2 separate regions of the Homo sapiens genome follow, and region 1 is linked to region 2. The links are contacts of gene promoters, found by promoter capture Hi-C in human tissues and cell types (Jung and others, 2019). All regions are on one chromosome and are shown on one strand. Each heading gives the region's core, a stretch centred on a gene start or on the middle of the fragment in contact. The rest is flanking DNA. Distances are from core to core; before and after follow the strand shown.

Evidence for each region. The method cuts DNA at HindIII sites, captures the fragments that hold promoters and counts their contacts. A contact is called where the count stands out against the background at its distance.
Region 1: a fragment that was not itself captured here is called in contact with the fragment with the promoter of EIF3M in region 2 in 1 of the 25 tissues and cell types used here (mesenchymal stem cells).

The regions. Positions count from the first base shown.
Region 1 is chr11:33,604,612-33,609,938 of GRCh38, forward strand. It overlaps KIAA1549L (KIAA1549 like), which reads left to right. Exons shown (of 21, transcript NM_012194.3): 14 at 2,030-2,211; 15 at 5,138-5,327. Among named protein-coding and RNA genes, the nearest start is that of C11orf91, 94 kb to the right of the region's middle. The HindIII fragment of the contact is 4,708 bases long and covers 198-4,905 here.
Region 2 is chr11:32,580,090-32,585,224 of GRCh38, forward strand. It overlaps EIF3M (eukaryotic translation initiation factor 3 subunit M), which reads left to right and starts at 3,742. Exons shown (of 11, transcript NM_006360.6): 1 at 3,742-3,840. The coding sequence starts at 3,799. RefSeq lists enhancers at 3,453-4,105, 3,748-3,897 and a silencer at 3,528-3,587. The HindIII fragment of the contact is 6,597 bases long and covers 2,817-5,135 here.

The DNA.
Region 1 (5,327 bases), core at 1,302-3,801, 1.0 Mb after region 2:
TACTCAGCCATAAGAAGAAATGAAATAATGTCTTTTGCAGCAACTTGGATGGAGCTAGAGGCCATTATTCTAAGTGAAGTAACTCAGGAATGGAAAACCAAATACTATATATTCTCACTCATAAGTGGGAGCTAAGCTATGAGGACACAAAGACACACAGAGTGATATAATGGACTTTGGGGACAGAGGAGAGGGTGAGGGGGGAGTGAGGGATAAAAGACTACATATTGGGTACAGGATACACTACTTACGTGACGGGTACACTAAAATCTCAGAATTTACCACTATAGAATTCGTCTGTGTAACCAAAAATCGCTTGAACCCCAAAAGCTATTGAAGTTTAAAAAAGAGAAAAATGAAAATAAAAAATAAAGTCTTGACTGGGGCTTGCAGGATGGTCACTCATGGCTCTTGACAGGGGGCTTCAGATCCTTGCCACATGGACCTTTCCATAGGACTGCTTCAAGGTCCTCAGAATGTGGCAGCTGGCTTTCTTTAGAGTAAGTGATCCGAGAGAGAGCAAGGTGGAAGTCATGAGTTTTTGTTTTGTTTTGTTTTGTTTTGTTTTGTTTTGTTTTGTTTTTTTACAACTAAGCCTTGGAAGTAACACGTTGTCATTTCTGTAGTTTCCTGTTGGTTACACAGGTCAGTCCCATTCATCCTGGGTATGAATATCAGGGGGTGAGAATTCTTAGGAGCCACCTTATTGGCTGGCTTTCATAGATGGCTTGTATAGCAAGTGTCCAGGAGGCAGATAATGGTGGCCAGGCCAGAGCTGCCCAGCAAAACTACATCTAAAAATATGGATGCATCTGGTAACACATTCAAATAGAGATTTTCCTCTGTCATTGGCTGCTTGGTGGCCTGCTATTTGCAAATCAGCCCACAGAACTTAAAAAAAAATCCAATTATAACCCATTGTTAGACTCTGAAGTGTTTTAGCCACTTTGTAAAAATAACAATTTACTTGGCTTAATTTGACAAATCTTCTGTGATTATGATAAGTGACAGAATGATACAAACTATGTGTTTCTCAATAATTTAAATAACATCCCAATCTCTCAAGCAGACAGGAGGAAAGATGAATACACTGCTATTACATTCATATTTTATATAACACCTCTTTTCCTCCTAAATTGTCTGCTGGTTTAGTTGTTTGAATAGGCTTAATGTATCTCTTGCCTAGCCATGCTCAATAAGCTGTCTTTCTTATAGTTACTTAATGGGAATATGCTTTAAGAACAAGTAAATCAGCAAGATACCAGGGGCCCTGGAACTTCTGTCAGCTTAGTTATGGAAGCTCAAGGCAGACTGGTGTCTTTTAGCAATTGCAGCAGAATTATCTGTCAGAAGGGAGGATTAATTTAACAGAGCGTAGGTAGAAATCCTTCTACTTAATTAGGGGAGTTGTCTGTAGCTTCAAATTAGTTTCTCTGGCGGAATTTTCGTAGCTTTCTTTTATTTTAGACAAATAAACCAAAACCCAAATCACTGGGGAAACAACCTTCAGAAGAGGAAAAAAAAAAAGAATGTCAGCCACTATAACTGTGGCTTGTTGACCAAGAAAGACTTGCTACTTTAACATCTTGTAAAGATTGGTAGCATTGGTGGCTGAACCTGAACTGAATGCTGTTAGTCTGAGGATTGTCGGATTTTAAGGACAGTTACAAGGTTTAGCCAAACTCACTTTTCTCACCTCCAACTCAAACATAGAGAAAGAAGTTACTTTTTAATTTTTTTCAACTGTCTTATGTCATAGTTTTGAAAGAATGGTTCTTACTGTTTAAATTCAAACCTCTACAGTTCTTTCCCACCCATGATAAGGCAATGGAGGGATAAATCATACAGATCTTAAATTTAAAGGAAAACCGCTAGCAGTAGCGAGTCCTTGGCACAGAAGCAGATGCTGTCGTTTCTGAGGTTGTTTTGAGTAAAGTAATGTCCTTAGGCTGTGAGTCTAACATAAATTCTCCTGGGATCACACAGCTCCCCAACATCATAAAATCGATGTGTTTATGTTGTGCTTCAGTGCCAGCGAGTGACGAAGAGGAGGGAGCGGTTCTATTTGACAACTCCAGCAAGGTGGCCGCTGAACCCTTTGACACATCTTCTGGGTCTGTGCAGCTCATTGCCATAAAACCCACAGCCCTCCCCATGGTGCCCCCCACCTCGGACAGGAGCCAGGAGTCATCGGCAGTCCTCAACGGCGAGGTAAGTGCCTGGAGACCCAGGGCAGGAGATGGTCCGGCCAGACTTGGGAAATTCGGACGAAGGAACAACACCTGTGAATACTGGGTGCAGATTGCACCTAGGGCCGTATAGGTCATTTTTACCTCTGCATGTACCAGGCCTCTGCAGAATGAATCAGGACACAAGTCACCCAAAAAGAATTTGTTGGGTGATGTTTTCAGAGCACTTCCTATGTTCATTAAAAGCCCAGAAGGAACTGTTAAAAAAATGTGATTATGAAGAGAAGCATCAGGCGTCCTGCTCCCCGACCCCCTCACACACACAGCCTTTTGCCTTTCTTGGTGACACTCCTAAACTGTCCATTGTGGGATGTTGCTTGTAGTGGGGATGGAAGGGGCTTGAATTGAGAGGGAACCAGGGAAGATAACGTCATATGGACAGGGATGTGGGCCACTCTGGGGACTTTGAAATGACATTTATTCCTTTGAGCAAACTTGAAACAACTCATTGGCTGCTTCCAGAAAGCTATCAATGGATATCATGATGTTAGTCAACTTTCCTAAGAGTCTGAAAAAAAAAATTGTAACATTCACCATAGAGTGATGATTTCATCAAAGAAAATTAGATAGATAGATGCCAGAAGTTAGGTAAAAATTATCTGCATTTCCTTCATCTTCAGCAGCAGAATGGCCAGTGGATTGCAAATGTTTATGAACTTTAAGAAGATGCATTTGGACCCTACATGTGAACATTTACATTACATGTGTGCCCAAGCATGTACACACACAAGCTCTTAATTTTTCTCTGTTCTTAAGCTGTCAGGTTGGTTGTTAATTTCATTTGTTTATACCCAGCTATTTTTACCTGCAAGAGGTGGGAGATTTCCAAAGTTTTAGTCTTTTTCCCATCACACCTCAAGGAACATGCTATGGCCCTACAAAACCAGGTATTGTAAATACGCAGCATCTGGGCCACTTATAAAAGCATTTTACAAACCCAACTCAGGAAGCAACTCTTGTTTTCTGGGCAGAAAGACTGAGATGGCCTAAAGATGTGATGGGTAAACCTTCATTGATTTAAAAAAAATAACTGGTTGTGGACGTACAGAGCACTTCTCTTTCAGCCTCTTCATTTTTTAAACCAAGAAGCTGAAGCTTGAGGGGTCCAGTGGCTTGTTCAAAGTCACACGGCAGGTTATGGTGACAGCCATGAGGTTGAGGTCCCCTGACTTCCTGTCCAGCGCTCCTTTCCTCTCTTTTACTTACTACAGCCTACCAGAGAATAATAGCATTGTGCTTAAAAGAGTATGGATTCTCAAGCCATGCCTCAGGGGTTTGAGCCTCAGATCTTTTACTTACTGTGTGACCTTAAGCATGTTAGTTCATTTCTCTGTGCCTCAGTATCTCCGTTTATAAAATAGGGCTGCTGTGAAGATCAAATTGTTTAATATATGTAAATTACTTAGACTAGTGCCTGGCACACAATAAGCACTTTGATGATGATGATAATGATGATGATGATTATTATTATTACTGTTGTTGTTATCACCACCCATTAGACAGCCAGTGAAGAAAGATCATGTATTTTATGCCCCTTGGCTCTACAATTTGAGAATCTGAATGTCTTCTCAAAACCAGTCACAGTCACTGAATTTTCTCTTGGGCACAATTCTGCCAGCAGACATGCAAACCCCATAATTAGAGGCCTCTGAGGTTGACACTAATGCATTGATAACTGCTGTTGATTTGGACCCTCTGCTCAGTTATGGATACATGTGATGGCCACTAGGCCTGGATCTTTTCATCCCAGCTTAATGATGTGCATGTCATAGAGACAGATTCCAAATCTGGGATAGATTCAATTTATCACCCCCTTTTCCTCCCAGGCCCATCACCTTGTCAAAGAAGGAGAGCAAATCAGCATCTTCCTTGTCCAGAAATGGATGCTGTATTTTGGTAGTTAAAGGAATGGACCTTGCTGGCATTTGGATTGGAAGAGAGCCCTGAACTGTTCTCTATAATTTGCTGCCTTGTGGAGCCTGACACAGATTGTCTTGTAATTTTCTTCCTCCTTCTATTGTGGGTGGCTGGTTTAAATGAAGAAAGCACAACCCAGAAGCCATACGTTTTTCTTTTGTAAATTACACGACATTCTTTTAAAGATTATTTTTAAGAAAGCATAATAAAAACAGAAAGTTCGGAAACGTTGGTGTGACATTCTCATCACTTGTTACTTATTTAGCACAGTCACCTGCTTATATCTCCAACAGTTTGCAAGGTACATTAGCCACGTTCCCTTCTGAAAGACCAGACTGCCTTTGCCCTATAGGGCAGGACCTGGTTCATGTTAGTGGCCATACAAGGCTTCAAAATTACATATCTCTCAAGAAAGGCATGGATTTACAAAAACATGCTGTCAGATGCAGGTTGACAGTGTGGAAAGGCATTGGGAGCAGCTGCTTCCCCTTCCACCCTGTCCGTCCCAGCTCAGCCTCTTCAGGAACTTGCTCTCTTATCTAGCTGGACACCAGCTGAAGGGCAGCGAAGGCCACTGGGTTCCCCAGGACTGGAGCTAGACTCAGGGCACTGAGAACTGGCGGAGGCACCCACACAGAGGAACCAAAAGGGTATAGGCATAATTAAGGCCGAGCCACATTGCTAAGAGCACGGAGTCAGGCCTAGGCCTGAACAGAGACAGGACAGACTAGGGAGAAGGAGGCCTTGGAGGAAGGTCTCAGGTGATTCAGGTGAGTGCCAGGCTCCACAGTATCTATAGTCTACTGTTGTGGGCTTGTCTCAGAATGGGATGCAGGTGGGCCTGGCTAGCTCAGAGGCCCGGAGGTGATGCCTGTGATGGCTTTTTTAGAAGTGATAACCTCCTGGTGAAAGTCTCCCACCTGCCGGCCCCACTGGGTCAGGTTTGGGCCTGAGACTGCCTCTCTCCCCAGGTGAACAAAGCCCTGAAGCAGAAGTCAGACATCGAGCACTATCGGAACAAGCTGCGCCTCAAAGCCAAGAGGAAGGGATATTACGACTTCCCTGCAGTGGAGACGAGCAAGGGTCTGACCGAAAGAAAGAAGATGTATGAAAAAGCCCCGAAGGAAATGGAGCATGTTTTGGATCCAGATTCAGAACTCT
Region 2 (5,135 bases), core at 2,492-4,991:
GAATAATTGCCTCATTCTGAGATGCTGATACAGACTTGAAAACAAATTTTAGATATTACTGTCATGCAAAGCATTCTTGTAAAAAATATAACTTTGCTCCAATAATACAATTTCAAGCAAATATATTAATATGGCTCTTGCAAATAGAATACTTAAAAACATAGTTAAATCCACATTTTCCGGAATTTTTAATCAGAAAGGAGATAACAAAGGGAACATAGACAAATTAAACAATAAAGAAAAACTGTACATATTTGGTTGTATTTTTCAGGTAAAAATTAAACTAAGATAATACTGCCTTGCAGATGGTGGGGCTTTGTTCAACTCCCTGGTGATTCCTTTTCCTTTTTTTTTTTTTTTTTTGGAGTCTCACTCTGTCGCCCAAGCTGGAGTGCAGTGGCGTGATCTCAGCTCACTACAACCTCCACCTCCTGAGTTCAAGTGATTCTCCTGCCTCAGCCTACCAGGTCCCAGCTAATTTTTGTATTTTCAGTAGAGACAGGGTTTCACCATGTTGGCCAGACTGGCCTGGAACTCCTGGCCTCAAGTGATCCACCTGCCTTGGACTCCCAAAGTGCTGGGATTACAGGCATGAGCCACCGCACCAGCCAAGCTTTTAAAGAATTAAAGTTAGTTTTATTCAGAGGTCTTACCGAGGATTGCAACCCAGAGAGTCTTCCAGAGAGTTTCTGTTAAACTGCTCCAAAGCAGTGTTTCCGCACACAGTTTGTGTACATCAGTGGTGGCTCTGCCTGTGCTCAGAAGTTACATTAAATGTGCTCAGAAGTTACATTAGAGCGAAATCACATCATGGTTTGGGTGCCAGGGTCCATCTGGTTATAGATTATGGAGACATAATCATTATTGCTGTCAGACATGGGTGTGCATTATACCCATGCACATGAAGAGGCAGAGGCTAGGATCATTGAACTTATGTTTTCTAAAACTGCAGTGATTCAGGCAAGAGAATGGGGACCTGTGCTCTATCCTGTTTATCTTTAGGGTATTCTTCCAGAGGGTTGCCCTCACTCACTGAGTCAGGGGCTTTGCGAAATTCTCTGGCAAACAGAATGAGCAAACATTCCTTCTTAGGTTTGCTACTTTGTCTCACAAGATTCATCCTGACCTAGGTGAGGACAGGCATTTCCTACTCAAATGTTGCATTTCCCAAGACTACTCGGGCCTACCACACCTCCATCCTGTGTGTGTGTGTGTGTGTGTGTGTGTGTGTTTATTTTGAATGAATGAAAGTTTAAAGTTTTAAATAACTGAGGACAGGCATTTCCGCATTTCCTACTCAAATGTTGCATTTCCCAAGACTACTCGGGCCTACCACACCTCCATCGTGTGTGTGTGTGTGTGTGTGTGTGTGTGTGTGTGTGTGTGTTTATTTTGAATGAATGAAAGTTTAAAGTTTTAAATAACTGTCCATATCCTCTCTCAAGAATTTCCCTGGGTGTTCTTTTACTTCACAAGGATCACAGAATGAAAAAAAAAATAACAATAGTAAAAAAGAGACAAGTCTTTTAAATATTTGATAAAATGGTATTGTATTGTTGAGTTTGTATTCCTCGAACTTTGCAATAATAAGGCGAGGGGAGGAGCCCAGGGATTATTCCTTCAGAATCAACTGGTATTTCCTGATGATCTGCTGTGGGCTGGGCACTGAGGTGGGTGCGGAAATGCAGGGTGAACATGACACAGGTTCCCTGCCTTCAGTTTCACTTTCCACATTGTTAAGGCTATTCCATGCAAGAATGAATCCTTTCAAATTTAGTCTAGCCAGATGTTTTGTGTCCTCTATCCCCTCAACCTTGTTTTTTTCCTTTGCTTGGCATTTATTTTATATTGAAGTATAATTGTGGTATCAATAAACTGCACATTTTTGAACTGCACACTTTGAAAAATGTTATATATGTATACAATCATGACACAATCACAGTCAAAATAATGAACACATCCATAACCCCCAAAAACTTCCTCAAGCCCCTCTGTATCCATCTTTCCCCCCGCCTTACCCAATCCCTGCCCCCAGGCAACAGCAATCTATAATGCTGTCATTATAGTTTCTACTTTCTAGAGTTTTATATAAATGGAATCATACAGTATGATGATTAACTGAACAAAATTATTTTGAATTATTTTGGGATTGTCAACTAAAGAAAAAAAATCAAGCTTTTATTTTAAGAGATGGAGTCTCACTCACTTTGTCACCCAGGCTGAAGAGACTGAAAAAAAAAAAAGATTCATCTGTGTTTTTGCATGTATCAATAATTCATCCTTTTTTGTTGCACAGCAGTATTCCATTAAGCAGATGTATAACAATTTTTTGATCCACTTCATTCATCTATTGATGAACATTTGGGTTGTTTCCTTTTTTTTGGCTATTGAAAATAAAGTGTTAACTTTTTGGAAACTGTCTCCTGAAAAAGCTAAACATAAATTTACTAAATAAGCCACTGATTCCTCTCATAGGTACATACCTAAGAGAAATATACGTACACACAAAATCTTGTGCACTAACGTTCATGGAAACATTATTCATAATAGCCAAAAAATGGAGACAACCCAAGTGTCCACCAACTGATGAACAAATCAACACAATGTGGTATATCCATAACAATGCAATATTATAAGCAATAAATAGGAATATAGGAGGGATACATGGACGAACCTTGAAAACATTATGCTAAATGAAGTAAGTCTGACTTAGGCCACCGTGTATTTTGTGATTCCACTTACATGAAATGTCCAGAAAAGGCAAATTCATAGAGACAAAATGTAGTGTTTGCCAGGGGCTGGAGAGAGGTGGGGCCGGGGGTCTGGGGAGTGATTGCTGATGGGTAGTTTCTTTTGTAGGTGATGAAAATGTTCTAAAATTAAATAGTAGTGATGGTTGTGCAACTCTGAAAATACTAAAAACTACTGAATTGTGTATTTATTTTATGAGACGGAGTCTCGCTCTGTCGCCCAGGCTGGAATGCAGTGGCATGATCTGGGCTTACTGCAACCTCCTTCTCCCAGGTTGAAGTGATTCTCCTGCCTCAGCCTCCCGAGTAGCTGGGATTACAGGCGCGCACCACTATGCCCCGGTAATTTTTGTATTTTTAGTAGAGACGGGGTTTTGCCATGTTGCCCAGGCTGGTCTCCAGTTCCTGACCCCAAGTGATCCGCCCACCTCGGCCTCCCACAGTGCTGGGATTACAGGCGTGAGATCCACTGCGCCCAGCCAAAGCTGCTATTTTTTAAAAGCGGCAATGAACATTCTTGTACAAGTCTTTGTACGGACATACAGTTTGGGTAGAAGAATAGCTGGGTCATATGCTGGGTGGATACTGAACTTTTTCAGAAACTGCCGCTCCTCTGCAAAGTGACTGCACCATTTTATGTTCCCAACAGCAGTACAGGAGAGTTTCAGGTCTACACAAACCCATCCATACTTGGTAAGACCCAACAAGCTTAACATTTCAAGGGAAGGTGGACTTAGGGAGGCGCCAGCGGGAGGCAACATCAATGCAGTTAGCTACACGGGCCTGAAAACTGGAGGCCGCGACAAGCGTCGCTGAGTGGAGGCCCAGTAAGTCCCACCCACTAGGCCAGCCCGAGCGCGTCTGCCACGCCCTGCTGCATTCCGCGGCGAGAGCGCGCGATAGGATTGGCTCTCAAGGCCCCGCCCCAACAGGTCGCCGCTCAGGGTGACCCGGAAGCAGTTGCGCCAGCAGCGTCGCGCGGCCCAGTTCCCTTTTCCGGTCGGCGTGGTCTTGCGAGTGGAGTGTCCGCTGTGCCCGGGCCTGCACCATGAGCGTCCCGGCCTTCATCGACATCAGTGAAGAAGATCAGGTGTGCTTCGGTCTACGGGTGCCGCCACGGTGGGGTGGGGGATGTCCTAGTAGCGCAAGGGACCGCTGCCGAGCCTGGGCCGGGCGGCCGGGGCTGACACCCGCAGCTGTTCTACACGCGAGAATGGGGAGGCCGGTGGCTGGGGCGCGCGTTCCTGGCCTCGATTCGCACCAGCTCGCCGGCCGGCGGTCCCAGCGCGGGGCCCGACGCTTCACCGCCAGCTCCCTGGTCGGCGTCGGGACTCATTTCTGACGACATAGTACTTTTAGACTGATGAGGAATGATGTCTGCTTCCGTCCGTCAAATGCAGCCACATTCGGAGTGGGAGGTGGTGAATCTGTAGTTAGCATAAGCAGGGTAGGGAAAAGTAATTTTGTGCTAAAGATCAAAATGCCGGGCCGGGCGCGGTGGCTCACGCCTTTAATCCCAGCACTTTGGGACGCCGAGGCGGGCAGATCACGAGGTCAGGAGATCGAGACCATCCTGGCTAACACGGTGAAACCCTGTCTCTATTAAAAATACAAAAAAATTACCCGGGCGCGGTGGCACGCGCCTGTAGTCCCAGCTACTGCCGAGGCTGAGGCAAGAGAATCGCTTGAACCCGCGAGGCGGAGTTTGCAGTGAGCCAAGATCGCGCCACTGCACTCCAGCCTGGGCGACAGAGCGAGAGTCCCTCTCAAAAAAAAAAAAAAAAAAAAAGATCAAAACGCCCGTATTACTGTGCGATCACAGGCGAAGACGACCCGTATTTTACACTTGCTTTCTATTCCTACTTGTATGAGGGTGAGAGTTGTTCTGTACCCCGGAAGTATGGTATCAGTTCAGCTCTTAAATTCTGTGAGGCATACACCTGATGGACCATCCTGATATTTTTAAATTTCCCGTTTGGCGTTTGCTCTTTGGTATACAGGGCTGATGGTTCTCATTTTCCCCATAACAAAAGTTTAACCTTATTTGGTAGGAGTTGAACACGACATCGTATTCTTTAAGTTAATTTTGTATTGCTGAAAATTCTTCTGTGAAGTCCTAACTTTGTCGTTTTATTTCTGTTACTCCACTAACACGGAAGTAACTTCCAAATGATTGGATATCATAAACTTCGCATGGAAGTTTACTTGTCTAAGACAACTTACAGAATTGCGGGAGTGAGTTCCCCCTCTCTCCTCCCCCCGCCCCATGGTAGGAATGCAGTTCCGATGCTCTGAAGAGCAAAGTAAGAAGGGAAAATGCAAAAGGCGGAGAAAAGGTCAAGGATGGGGAGGTTAAGCACAGATAGGAAGATATGAAAGACAAAA